Regions from separate parts of the Homo sapiens genome. Here regions 2, 3, 4 and 5 are each linked to region 1. Evidence: promoter capture Hi-C in 16 types of primary human blood cells and fetal thymus (Javierre and others, 2016). All regions are on one chromosome and are shown on one strand. The core of a region is centred on a gene start or on the middle of the fragment in contact, and the rest is flanking DNA. Distances in the headings are between cores, read along the strand shown. Region 1 holds the start of LPAR2 (lysophosphatidic acid receptor 2). Region 2 has its middle 62 kb from the start of ZNF93. Region 3 overlaps LOC124904665 (a long non-coding RNA gene). Region 4 overlaps ZNF93 (zinc finger protein 93). Region 5 overlaps ZNF253 (zinc finger protein 253).

Evidence for each region. The method cuts DNA at HindIII sites, captures the fragments that hold promoters and counts their contacts. A CHiCAGO score of 5 or more calls a contact.
Region 2: a contact is called between a fragment that was not itself captured here and the fragment with the promoter of LPAR2 in region 1, in 10 of 17 cell types (naive CD4 T cells, total CD4 T cells, M2 macrophages and 7 more). The highest score is 11.4, in naive CD4 T cells.
Region 3: a fragment that was not itself captured here is called in contact with the fragment with the promoter of LPAR2 in region 1 in 2 of 17 cell types (naive B cells and total B cells); the score reaches 6.6 in naive B cells.
Region 4: a contact is called between a fragment that was not itself captured here and the fragment with the promoter of LPAR2 in region 1, in 2 of 17 cell types (total B cells and total CD4 T cells). The highest score is 6.1, in total B cells.
Region 5: a fragment that was not itself captured here is called in contact with the fragment with the promoter of LPAR2 in region 1 in 1 of 17 cell types (total CD4 T cells); the score reaches 5.4 in total CD4 T cells.

Annotation. Positions count from the first base shown.
Region 1 is chr19:19,626,873-19,629,514 of GRCh38, forward strand. LPAR2 (lysophosphatidic acid receptor 2) reads right to left here and starts at 1,348. Exons shown (of 3, transcript NM_001395660.1): 1 at 1,220-1,348; 2 at 1-412. The coding sequence starts at 403. It overlaps GMIP (GEM interacting protein), which reads right to left. Exons shown (of 21, transcript NM_016573.4): 21 at 2,604-2,642. RefSeq lists silencers at 1,099-1,598, 1,969-2,098 and an enhancer at 1,736-2,642. The HindIII fragment of the contact is 41,803 bases long and covers 1-2,642 here.
Region 2 is chr19:19,961,483-19,964,124 of GRCh38, forward strand. It overlaps the pseudogene BNIP3P12. Among named protein-coding and RNA genes, the nearest start is that of ZNF93, 62 kb to the left of the region's middle. The HindIII fragment of the contact is 4,095 bases long and covers 1-2,642 here.
Region 3 is chr19:19,937,881-19,940,522 of GRCh38, forward strand. LOC124904665 (a long non-coding RNA gene) reads right to left here. Exons shown (of 3, transcript XR_007067170.1): 1 at 1,855-2,642; 2 at 1,686-1,782; 3 at 638-803. Among named protein-coding and RNA genes, the nearest start is that of ZNF93, 38 kb to the left of the region's middle. The HindIII fragment of the contact is 1,208 bases long and covers 709-1,916 here.
Region 4 is chr19:19,910,101-19,912,742 of GRCh38, forward strand. All of the region lies in intron 1 of ZNF93 (zinc finger protein 93), which reads left to right. Among named protein-coding and RNA genes, the nearest start is that of ZNF93, 10 kb to the left of the region's middle. The HindIII fragment of the contact is 1,625 bases long and covers 505-2,129 here.
Region 5 is chr19:19,888,533-19,891,174 of GRCh38, forward strand. All of the region lies in intron 3 of ZNF253 (zinc finger protein 253), which reads left to right. Among named protein-coding and RNA genes, the nearest start is that of ZNF93, 11 kb to the right of the region's middle. The HindIII fragment of the contact is 211 bases long and covers 1,188-1,398 here.

The sequences.
Region 1 (2,642 bases), core at 98-2,597:
GCTGCACGGCCATCACACTGCGGTGCCGCTCCACGGCGATGGCCAGCAGTGTGGCCACCGACGCAGTGAGGCTTGTGTCCAGCAAGCCCTGCCGCAGGAACCAGCCCTCAAGTGAAAGTCGGGCTGTGCGGGGACCAGTGTGGAACATGAGGAAGAGGTAGGCCACGCCCGCGAAGAGGTCAGCCGCGGCCAGATTGCCGAGCAGGTAGTAGATGGGCTGGTGGAAGCGGCGGTTGGAGGCGATGGCTGCTATGACCAGCAGATTGGTCAGCAGCACCAGCACGCTGACGGTCAGCCCCAGTGCCACCACGACCACATCCTTGGGCCGCCAGTGGGAGCTGAGCTCTTTGCCACTGTTGTTATAGAAGAAGCCGATGGTCTCGTTGTAGTAGCACTGGCCCATGATGACCATCTGGGGACACAAGAGATCAGTGCATGTGGCACTTCTTGGAAGGACACAGGGAGGGGCGGCAGCTGCAGAGGAGGGTCAGCGCAGGAAGGACAAGGGTCTCAAATTCAGATACCTCGAAGCAAAGTGGCAGTGGTGAGGACTACGGTGGCCTGGAAAAAGCAAGCTCCATGGGGCTGGGGTGGAGGTGGAGGAGCAGCTGTTTCTTACCTACTAATAAGACCTGTGTGCAAGACATCACCCAAGTCAATAGGTTTTTGAACCAGAAGTGAAACAAAACCCATCTATGGTCGAATCCCAGCCCACCTGCCGCCAATGTGTGACCCGGTTTGGGTTGTGGGGAGAGGAGGGTTAGGGAAAGACAAAGGGGTGTGAGCTGCGGGAAGAGATGAGGGAGGATCACTTTGGTGCCGGAGTCAGTGTAGGGAGCAGAGACCCGGGAGCGTGTGCACACAAGGGTGAGGTCACTTGCTAGAACCCTGCGAGGGGGCGGTGCCGAGGCGTGGAGGTGATCGGAGTGGACAGAGAGGCGGCCCCAGAAGTTAGTCGGCGGGATTTGGGCGCGAGTGCTTCCCAAGCGGGCGGGGCAATAGGCTGTTCCGGGTGGGACGGAGGACACTGGCGGTCTCCGGGACAAAGACAGCGGTTGGGGAAGGGATGGATGGCCGGGCCTCCAGGCGTCTCCAGACTGGGGAAGGGGTAGGGGGTTAAGGGATCAGAGGGCGGCGTCCTGGCCCCGCAGGCACGTGCCGCGCCCTTCCCCCGGGCCCAGGCCCGCACCCGCCCGCCTCCCGTCCGTGCAGGCCTCACCTGGGCCTCCAGTCACGCCGCAGACAAGGCGGGCTCGCGGGGGTTCGGGGCGGGCTCGAGGCCCATGGCCCGGCGACTGCGGCGGGAGCGGTAGAGCGTCCGGGTGCGCCCTGTGCGGGTTGCTGAGAGGGCGCGGGAGGCGGGGTCTCCCCGGCGCCCCGCCCCCACCACCTGGGGGAGCCCTGCCCCGCCCCGCCACCTGGGGGAGCCCCGCCTCCACGGCCGCGTCGGGGGCGGTGTCGCCCGGAACCGCAGCCCCCCTGTTTCCTCCCCGCCTCGCGGCCCCTCAGTCGCCCCTATTTCCGGCGCGGGACCCCCACCCCGGTACCTGCACACCTCATGCGCCCGCAGTTTCGAGCCTGCGGGGCTGAGTCACTCGGCGACCCGAAAATTCCCGCCGTGACCCCGCGCTGCCCGGGCGGAGCTCCAGGTGGTCTTGGGTCCGCGCCCCCGCTCCGGACCCCCAACCCTCCCAGCCCCACCCCGCTCTCTTCTTCGTGTCCAATCGGCCGCCGAGTTACAAGCCACTCCCTGATCCGACTTGGCTCCCACCGCCCGGACCCCCGCCCAGCTTCGGCTTTGCCAGCTCGCAGTATCAGCGAGCCGCGGCCTCCTGTGCGAGGCCCACCTCTGCGGCCCCAGCTGATCATCGGGCGCACGCTAGGGTTTTGCAATCCCGCCCCCGTACCCCTCACCCTGGGACAGCGCTGCCCCCTGCAAAGCCCGGCCCTGCCCTGCCCTGCCCTGTGGCTTCCTCCCTCGGCCTCCCTGCGGCGGCCCCGGGCTCCCACGGTCCGGAGCACACAGCCCCATTGTCCCGGTTATCGGTACTTTGTTATACTGTATTTGATTATGCAGGACCGGATCGGGGACGCAGAGCTCCGGGAGGGCCGGGCTGGCGTGACTCAGCCGGGTGCTGCGACCCAGCTCCAACTGCCTTTACGTAGGTGCTGCAGGGTGTTTGATGATGCAAGAAGGAGGCCTTGAGGCCGGGCGCAGTGGCTCACGCCTGTAATCCCTGCATTTTGGGAGGCCGATGCGGGACGATCACGAGATCAGGAGATCGAGACCATCCTGGCCAACATGCTGAAACCCCGTCTCTACTAAAAATACAAAAAAATTAGCCGGGCATGGTGGCAGGCGCCTGTAGTCCCAGCTACTCGGGAGGCTGAGGCAGGAGAATCGCTTGAACCCGGGAGGTGGAGGTTGCAGTGAGCGGAGATCGTGCCACTGCACTCCAACCTGGAGACAGAGCAAAACTCCGTCTCAAAAAAAAAAAAAAAAAAAAAAAAAAAAGAGGCCTTGATTCCCCTAATCTGTAAAATGGGGGCAAGGAGTGCTACCCATGCTGGCCTCTCCCCTAGCAGAGATGCACCCAAGGGCATATAGGACACAGTTTATTAGAGGCCATCAGACCTCAGGC
Region 2 (2,642 bases), core at 85-2,584, 330 kb after region 1:
TTCAACAAGGTTTCACCATGTTGGCCAGGATGGTCTCGATCTCCTGATCTCGTGATCCGCCCACCTCAGCCTCCCAAAGTGCTGGGATTACAGGCGTCAGCCACCATGTGGGGGAAAGAAAGAGAGATCAGACTGTTACTGTGTCTATGTAGAAAAAGGAAGACATAAGAAACTCCATTTTGATCTGTACTAAGAAAAATTCTTCTGTCTTAAGATACTGTTAATCTGTAACCCCAGCCCCAACCCTGTGCCCGCAGAAACATGTGCTGTATTGACTCAAGATTTAATGTATTTAGGGCTGTACAGGATGTGCTTTGTTAAAAATGTCTTTGCAGACAGTATGCTTGGTAAAAGTCATCGCCATTCTCCAGTCTCCCGTACCCAGGGACACAATGCACTGCGGAAAGCCGCAGGGACCTCATGCCCAAGAAAGCCTGGGTATCGTCCAAGGTTTCCCCCCACTGAGACAGCCTGAGATATGGCCTCATGGGAAGGGAAAGACCTGACCATCCCCCAGCCCGACACCCATAAAGGGTCTGTGCTGAGGAGGATTAGTGAAAGAGGAAGGCCTCTTTGCAGTTGAGATAAGAGGAAGGTATCTGTCTCCTGCTCATCGCTGGGAATGGAATGTCTCGGTGTAAAACCTGATCATACATTCTATTTACTGAGATAGGAGAAAATCACCTTATGGCTGGAGGTGAGACATGCTGGCGACAATACTGCTCTTTACGACACTGAGATGTTTGTGTAAAGTCAAACATAAATCTGTCCTACGTGCACATCAAGGCACAGCACCTTTCCTTAAACTTATTTATGACACAAAGTCCTTTGCTCACATGTTTTCCTGCTGACCCTCTCCCCACCATTACCCTGTAGTCGTACCACATCCCCCTCACTGAGATGAAAGAGATAGTGATCAATAAATACTGAGGGAACTTAGAGACCAGTGCCGGGTGCGGGTCCTCCGTATGCTGAGCGCCGGTCCCCTGGGTCCACCTTTCTTCCTCTATACTTTGTCTCTGTGTCTTATTTCTTTTCTCAGTCTCTCATCTCCACCTTGTGAGAAACACCCACAGGTGTGGAGGGGCAGGCCCCCTTCACCACCATGTGCAGCCCTGTTTTCCATGTTGATGCCCATGCATCTCTGCTTTCTCTTGACAGGCTATTTAATCAGCAGGAAGAAAAACAGGCCACAATTTCCACCATAACAGTAAACTTGAATGTGGATGAATAGATTACAATGTGTTCAAGCCTTGCAAAGAGAGGCATTATAGTGTATGGTGGTGTAATTGATAGTGATTACCAGGGAGAGTTAAAGGTCATTTTATACAATAACACTCCAGATTCTTTTGCTATAAAACTAGATGCTGGTTACTCAATTTTTAGTGGTACCCTTGTCAACAATTAACTCCTGAGGAAATCTCTGCCCCAACAGAGTCTACATACAGAACTGGGGGATTCAGATCCCCTGGTACAGGTAGCTTAAATCCTGGAGCCAAAATATGCATACAGCGTCCATCACATCTTGACCCTAAGGCTGGTGACCTTGTAGCTATGAAAGCGGGAAATGAAGGCATAGTACAATTTCCTAAAGATGAAAAATAAATCATGTTCCACTCCATTTTTGTTATTACAGGGAATAACCTATCTACTAATGGTCAGCACCTGTGTCTTTGTGTCTGAAGCCAAGAATAAATTCATCACCTGGGTAGCCACCGCTGCAACTGAAGCCATCCACAGTCAATGTTGGCTATATGTTGAGTTGCCGGAGGCTGCCTGGGATGGGCTATCTTGAAGAATCGTCCCTGACAACATTTCTGAATGGCTATATTGTTACCAGTAGGGCCACAACAACAACAACACTTGCAATCCAACCTGGGCTTCCTTTCACCACACTAAGCAATCTATCTTTGCCAGGTCAGACAAAAGATGAACTCCACCCTCACCTTGCATCAAAAGTCTTGATATCTTGCCCAATAATCCTGGAACAATATACACTGAAAACCTGCTGTGCTGGTGGCTGGATTCCATACAGGCTTCGCTTTTTCTGGAGGCCTTAAATGGCTCCTCTAATGTTTCTTTGGGGTTTCTTCAGACATTTGTCAACACATACTCCAAATCAACAACACTGCCCCCCAATGAACCACAATCTCTTTCCTATTTTAATAACACATTAGTACACTATGATTACAGTAGCTCCATTGCTGTCCCCTGGGGGGCCCTCTGGGTATGCAGATCCTATGGGTTGCAATACTGTCCCTGCATTGGATGGGAAGATGCACTTGAGGGTGGACATTAATTCCATTCACTATCCGGGATAATATTCCCTTCCCCAGTAATCTAGATGCTTACAAACACCACTGGTTACAAATGTGCTGGTCTCCCTGGTGGTGGTACCCTATCACAGTATTCTCCCCTGCCACCAGTACATTCCTCCTTCACCAACACATTAAAATATTTACCTTACATGTAGAAAAAGCTCTTAATGATAGTAGCACTGAACTTGTGTTGTTATCAGATGAATTTGCTCAGCTGCGTACTATTGTGTTGCAAAATCAAATGGCATTAAAAATGCTTACCGCAGCCCAAGGAGGGGTTTGCACGTTACTGCAAACTGAATGTTGTGTGTATATCTCTGGTAA
Region 3 (2,642 bases), core at 63-2,562, 310 kb after region 1:
TTGACTTAAGGTGAAATGAGAGAGTAAAGAGAAGTGGTTCTGACTTATAGCACTGACTAAAATTATCCAATAAAATAATTTTCAAAACAGAAATATTATTCTCTAACTATGATAAAAAAAAAAAAGCACCATAAGATCCAGAACAACAGTTCATATATTTTATTTTTCTAGATAATAAAGTATAAAATTAAGGGCATGAACACGAACATGTACATTTTTGAGTGCTATATTTACATCATACGGAATGAGTTGTGAATATTTTTCAGATGGAAAAGACATTCACTTAGGCATTTCTCAAATTTATTATGTACAATAAGCTGAAGACCTTATGCAGGTTTTTTTTTTTTTCCAAGAAGATCTGGAGTAAGTCTGATTTACGTATTTATTTCCTTTTCTTTTTTATTTGAGACGGAGTTTCATGCTTGTTGCCCAGGCTTCTGTGCAGTGGCATCATCTTGGCTCACGGCAGTGTCCCCCTCCTGGGTTCAAGCAATTCTCCTGCCTCAGCCTCCTGAGTAGTTGAGATTACAGGCATGTGCCTCCACGCCCAGCTATTTTTGTATTTTTAGTAGAGACAGGGTATTCTCCATGTTGGTCAGGCTGGTCTCAAACTCCCAACCTCAGGTGATCTGCCTGCCTTGGCCTCCCAAAATGCTGTGATTACAGGCATGAGCCAGGGCTCCCCGCTGATTTTTTGAATTTCTAACAAGCTTACCAGTAATGCTAACGTTTTTGGCCTAATAAGGATATTTTGTCAAAGATCCAGTAAGTGGTAGAGCCTGTGTTTTCCCAGTTTTTCTAGCCTGTAAACAAAGATAAGAGCCTTCATTTTCTAAAGAAAAATATGTAGAAAAAATAAAAGGAGAACTGCCAGATTAAATGTGATCACTTGTGTAGAGCAGCTGCATAAAGATAATTATGAAGAGAAAAATAGTTATCTCTACAGTGAAAAAAATCAATCAGCTATTTCACCAAGTGAATCATTAACCATTAACTGCACTAGGACAAATTTTTATGATGTGCTACTGCACACAGAAGAACACAGCATCACTGTTGAAATATTCCTCCCCAAAACAGTAAACTAGTCTGAATTTAACCATAAACAACAGTTTATGCAAACTTCAAAATACAGGTAACTCCTATGTTCTGTAATTTTTAGTAGGAATTTTAATTAGGCTTCATTTAGCACCCTAGAGAGCAAGTATCTCCTAATAATTTTTTTCAGAACTTTCTGGGTAATAAATGCCATTCCATTTAAATCAGCATTTTCTTAATCCTCTTCTGCATAGAGCTAATGGAACACACAGCTGGAGCCTCAACATTACATGTTCTCCATCTTTACTAAGGGCCACAGTTTTCCCCAATAGAAACCTTGAGTATCCACATCTTTCCATGTTCAACAGCCACAAAGGGAACATTTTTAATATTGCAGGTCATAAATTCTTGCGGAGCATTCTGCATGGCATATAAGAAGCTATGACGTACAGAATGTAGAGAAGTCTGTGGGACATAGGACAGAAACGTTTTCCAGAGACCCTTGACTATCATAAGAATTTTAAGAAGTAGTTAAACCAAACTCCTTAGGGAGGAAAAACACAAGTAGAGAAGTAAAGGTTTGTGAGTACTAAACGCATGGCAGTCCAGGAGGCAGAGTGGACACAGCTCTTCATCTGACACATGTTTACCTGAAGAAAAGCCATTTTTTTCTTTCTCCTCCTCCTCTGGAATTCCTTCTCAGATGAGATTCTCTGGACAAGTTACACCTGCATATGGAGAATATGCCTTTAAAGGTGTCAGTACCACATTTACCTGCTAGTATGACATCAACTGGCAGAAAAAGAAAAATTCACTTACTGCTGTCTTTTAAACAGAATAGATTCAGGAATAATGAGCTGCTCCATGAAGACAAAAATATAAGCTTCTCCTTTCCTGTCCTCAGGTGCCCTCCCCTGCCAGAGACTCCAGCAATTTCTGCTACAGTAATGGAAATATGCACCACACTGACCTGTCCCTACCAAACCCAAACAGAACAGGCCCTGTGACCACCCTTTAGTGCAAAGGTGGAACTTAACTCTCGAAAATGTATTTTGAAGCCTTCATACTTGATTCTGGCCTCACCTTAGAGTCACATGAGGCCCTTCATTAAAACAACATGGATCCTTCCACCCAGAACAATAAACAGAAGCTGTGGGGAGGGCACAAGTATAAATCACTTGGTAATTTTGGTCCCACATTATGTAAGGTGATTCTGCAGGTTTGAAAAGGGTTTATGAAAGAGTGTTTTAAACAAGTCTCCTGTCAATGCTGATGTTGCTCCCCCTTGGCTCATTATTAGCATTAGAGAAAGCAGGCAGAGCACAGGGTCCCTTACACTTAACACCCTTCTCACAACCAAATACTTGTCGTGCAAATAAGGACAACCCATCTCCATCCTAAAGTTTTATATTCTTTGCTGGCTCTTTAAGTTTATAGAGGAAACAGAAGGCAGCAATGTTTGAATAAGTCTGGGTTTAAAAAACAACATGTACACATGTACTACTGCAATGTTTATTAAGCAAGTACTATGTGCTCAAGAGTATGATACAGAGCACTGTGCTGGGCATAACACATTATGTGATTTAATTCTCATAATACCCTGGGAG
Region 4 (2,642 bases), core at 67-2,566, 280 kb after region 1:
TTTCCCCTTCCTCCTCTTGCTAAATGCTCACAAATGTACAGGTAAACACCTGTGGCTACTCCAGTCGTTCAGGCCCTAAACTTGAAGCTCCAAATTTTGAATCCAGGTCTTGAGATTTGGGGGAAAAAAAAACTTACCTAAGAAATGCAAGTCCCTTTGGTTATCAAACTCAGACATTAAAATGAAAGTACTGTTATGTCTTTCTCCCCCCTTTGAACTATGTATTCATCTCTTGAAACTGTTCACTATTGCCACAAGTAATTATAAATTAAACTAATAATGCCACATTAGACACTATATCCCATACCCTAAACCATAATAATATATATGTAATCAATAATCGATGTTATTTCTGTAAATAAATAAAAATTTCTGACAATCAACTTTGTATCAGCCCACTCTCTGTCCCTGTCTTGTTGTCTTTACAAATTGTCTTGTAACTGCTGGTAATCAAAATGCAGATTCCAGGCAACTTGAATCTTTGCTCCCAGGTTATAATCCTTAAGCTTGACCCAAGTAAACTATCTACTTATATTCATGTTCTTTCAGCTTTTTTTTTTTTTTTTCATGTAGACTTACCATTTAGAATGTGCTAGAGTAGTCTCTATGAGGGGATCTCTCCTTTGATTGTATTCCACTTGCTGTAACACCAAAGGATGCAGAGCCAGGTGGATCCTACCTGGAATCTGCAGATAAGGTCTGGCCTCTGCCTGGGATTTACAAGAAAGGACCAGAACTTGGATTGAGAATGTACAGAAAATGAACAAAAGTCATTTTCTGCATTGTGAATGTAAACATAGACATCTTACAGCCCCCATTTGGGAGTGTGGCTCTTTGAGATTTTCACATCTTGTTCATTGACCTGCTACAGTTATGTGAGGGGCTCCAGGAGAAATAGACTCAGATGGCAGAATCTGTAAGTGTAAATAAGCATCTTAGGAGTGAGAGATCGGGGCCACAAAGTATCCAGAGCCATGACCACAATTATATTTAGCTGTAAAATGTAATACTAGAGTAGAGTATTTTTGATCTTTCTCTTACCCAAGAGCTAGCAAATCAGAATGGGTGATCCAGGTTCTGGAGCTCCACCAGGGCAGTTCCATTTTCTATTCAGAGTTAGCCTGAGTCTCTCCAGCCTGGCTTATCATTGGGCCATGAGGCCTGGGTCACTGGGAATCTCTCACAATCACCCAGGTGTCTTTGAGGCATTTGAGGATGTCCAGAGCAGAATTTTGTCAGGCTGACAAGAGTGGTTAATTCTGCTTCTGTCTCAGTGTAAGAGAAATGAGTCATCCTGTGTTTGTTCATTCCCTCATACAAGAGATATCTTTGGTTGGTACCCCGATGACAGCTTCTCCAGTTTCCTGGTACTTGGATAATAAGGAGAAGATCTGGAGACCCAGATAGATAAACTAGCTCCTTCCACTTCATATGGGCATTAAAAAAATACATGAAGCAGTCATAGTTCCTACAATCCAGAAACTTTTAGTCTAGACTAGCTACTGGATAAGTAATTGAAGTGTGCATCATATGGTTGGTATAATAAATAGATGTGTTAAAAATCTTGGGCTTTAGACCACTTTCTTTATATTGTTGTGACTTCTGATGTCTACACCTGAAGGGAGATTTATGAACAAAATAATTGTTATAAATTCTTTTTTTTTTTTGAGATGGTGTTTCACTCTGTCACCTGGTCTGGCTTGCAGTGGCACGATCTCGGCTCACTGTAAACTCTGCCGCCCGGGTTCAGGTGACTTTCCCTTCTCAGCCTCCCGAGTAGCTGGGATTACAGTTGCCTGCCACTGCACCTAGCTAATTTTTGTATTTTTACTAGAGGCGGGGTTTCATCATCTGGATCAGGCTGGTCTTTAACTGCTTGACCTCGTTCTGCACCCGCCTTGGTCTCCCAAAGTCTTGAGATTACAAGCATGACCCACCGCGCTTGGCCGTATATTTTCTATTTCTTTTACCTTGCTAACTGTAGATATTTATTTTCTAATAAAATTACCCTAGAAAACCTTAAGGGATTTGTTTAAGTTGCATACTAGTATATAGTATAAAGTTGTCAGGGCAGTGACTAGAAAAGATAAAAACTACAGAAACTCTGGGATTTAAGTTTCTTTTAGGTAAGCTTAGAAACAAAACAAAACTGGAAGTTTCCTAGTTGCATAGAGAACAGAATTCTACATAGGGTTCTCACCCTGCCCCAGACGTGTTCAGATTCATCCTTTTTGGAGACCTTAGTTAGGTCTGAACCTACCCTGGAGTATTGCCTCACAGAACTCATTAAAGGAGATCAGAGTTTTGGCTGCTGAATCCTGCTGCCTTTCTAGAGCTGGTGCTCACAATTTCCTGAAATTCAAAAGCAGATAAATCGGGAAAAAAAGTATGTTTTGTAAGGTGTTTGTTTTTAAATTTTTTATTAAAACCAGTGCTTGCAGAGACATTGTATTTAGCAACTTGTTTTCTATTCCTGCAGATCCAGTAGTTGCTGCACAAGTCAAAAAAGTAAATATAAACAGAATGAAATTTTCTCTAGACTACATTAAACTCTTCTGTATCTCTTTCATCTGTCTATATTTAGCTTTTATTCTATACAATTTTTTAAAAAATTTGATGACAGAGAAACAGAAGAAAAAATA
Region 5 (2,642 bases), core at 43-2,542, 260 kb after region 1:
AACCTCTAAAAGATCCAACAATATACTTTAATGCAGTAAAAAATTAACTTCAGTTGCATGCAAACATTCTTCATTACATCTGCCTTCAACTTTGTTATTGATTTTGCTAATTCTACTTATGTTATATATTCATTAACAGATGTTTATAATAATTCCTCTACTTCCATCTTTTGCATTTTAGAGAATAACTAAAAGTGCTTTCTGTGCCATTATGATAATAAGTAAGGAATTCTATTTTTGTGTATGTGCATATCTTCTCCAGAAAGTTATGTATTTTCATATGATCATGTGTTGTTTTCTTGTATTATGTTATTTTCAGTGGAAGAAACTTCTTTCAGCATCTTTGATAGGTAGGGCATATGCAGTGCCAATATACTTTCTTAGGATTTGGTTATTTTGGAAGGACTCCTTTTTATATGATAGTACAATTTTGCCGATGGTATTATTTTCTGCAAAAATTTTTTTTGATAAATTCACTGGTTATCTTATAAGACTATGCTTATAAATGACACATCATTTTTATCTTGCAGCACCCAAAATTCTTTTCTTATCTGTGATTTTTGAAATTTTGCTTATAGGTGTGTTTGTGATAAATATCTTTTTGTGTATCCTAGTTTGTTCAGCTTCTTCATGTTTACATTATTTTTTCTTTTAAGAAATTTTTAAGTTATTTTTATATTTTTTATATCCATAATTTTTGTTTTTTTCTATTTTAATATTTTTTCTTGTTTATCCTCATTTTTCTGATCTTCAGTAGTCGTCTGTGTTCCTATTTCACTTACTGAATATCATTCAATTTCTTTTATGTAATTAATTAATTTATTTATTTTCTGAGACAGAGTCTCACTCTGTTGCCCAGGCTAGAGTGCAGTGGCATGATCTTGGCTCACTGTAACCTACCCCTCCCAGGTTCAAGTGAGTCTCCTGCCTCAGCCTCCCAGTAGCTGGGATTACAGGTGCATGCTGCCACATTTGGCTGATTTTTGTATTTTTAGTAGAGATAGGCTTTCACTCTGTTGGCCAGGCTGATCTTGAACTCCTGACCTCAAATGATCCACCCACCCCAGCCTCCCAAAGTGCTGGGATTACAGGCATGAGCCACTGTTCCTGTCCTACTTTATTTTTTTTTTGAGACAGGCTTGCTCTGTTGCCCAGCCTGGCCAGCAGTGGTACAGTCACTCACTGCAAGCTTCCCATCTTGGGTTCAAGCAGTTCTCGTGTGTCAGTCTCCTACGTGGCTGGGATTACAGGCACATGCCACCACGCCCAGCTAATTTTTGTATTTTTAGTAGTTACAGGGTTTCACCATGTTGGCCAGGCTGGTCTCAAACTCCTGACCTCATGTGATTTTCCTACCTTGGCTTCCCAATGTGTTAGAATTACAGGAATGAGCTTCCAAGCTTGGCCTGTTCAATTTATTCTGAATTTTAAAAATTACTTTATTCACTTTTTATGGCTGCTTTTGAAAATTTTATAATTTTTTTGATGGGCCATGCTGCCCAAATATTTTGTATACATTGTAATCTTTGAGTGAGATTCAGGCATTAACAAAAAGCTACCTGTGCCAATCTTTATAATATAGTTTTGTCCTTGTGTAGTCTGAAATCAATTGTTTTGGCTAGAGATTCTGGGAATTTCTCAAACATGTTTTTAGGATGTGTCTTGTCTAAAATTTTGTGTTTATTGTTTAGTTAAATCGGCTTATTCATATTTCTTCCTAATAATCAGTAATCACTTGCTACAGCCATTCCTGTTTGGATTACTGCAGTTTCTCTGCTTCTGTAACATTTACCTTTAGACTCAGCAGACTCAAACTGTCATTCTAACATATCACTGTTTCAGCATTTTATGTCATGGGAGACATTAGCCGGTGTCTAAAAAAGTTCATAGATGCCAGAAATAAAGATGTATGTGCCAATATTTTTCTTATTTTTAAAAAAGAAACCAGGAGTTGGCAATTTATATTTGTGTGTGTGTGTGTGTGTGTGTGTGTGTGTGTGTGTGTGTGTGACAGAGTCTCACTCTCTTACCTAGGCTGGAGTGCAGTGGCAAAAATCTTAGCTCACTACAATCTCCGTCTCCACAGTTGAAGCAATTCTCCTGCCTCAGCCTTCAGGTAGCTAGGATTACAGGTACCTGTTACCATGCCTGGCTAATTTTCTGTATTTTTAGTTGAGATGGGGTTTCACCATGTTGGTCAGGCTGGTCTCAGTCTCCTCACCTTAGGTGATCCACCTGCCTTGCCTTACCAAAGTGCTGGGGTTACAGGCATTAGCCATCATGCCTGGCCAACAATTTAATTTTTTTTTTTTTTTTTTTTTTTTTTTGAGATGGCGTCTCACTCTGTTGCCCAGGCTGGAGTGCAGTGGTGCAATCTTGGCTCACTGCAGTCTTTGCCTCCCTGGTTCAAGCAATTCTCTGCCGCAGCCCTCCGAGTAGCTGGGATTAAATGTGCCCGCCACCATGTCTGGCTAATTTTTTGTATTTTTAGTAGAGACAAGGTTTCACCATCTTGGCCAGGCTGGTCTTGAACTCCCGACCTCATGATCCACCCACCTCAGCCTCCCAAAGTGCTGTGATTACAGGCGTGAGCCACCATGCCCAACTGGCAATTTACTTTTAAAAGCACAATGTTATACTGG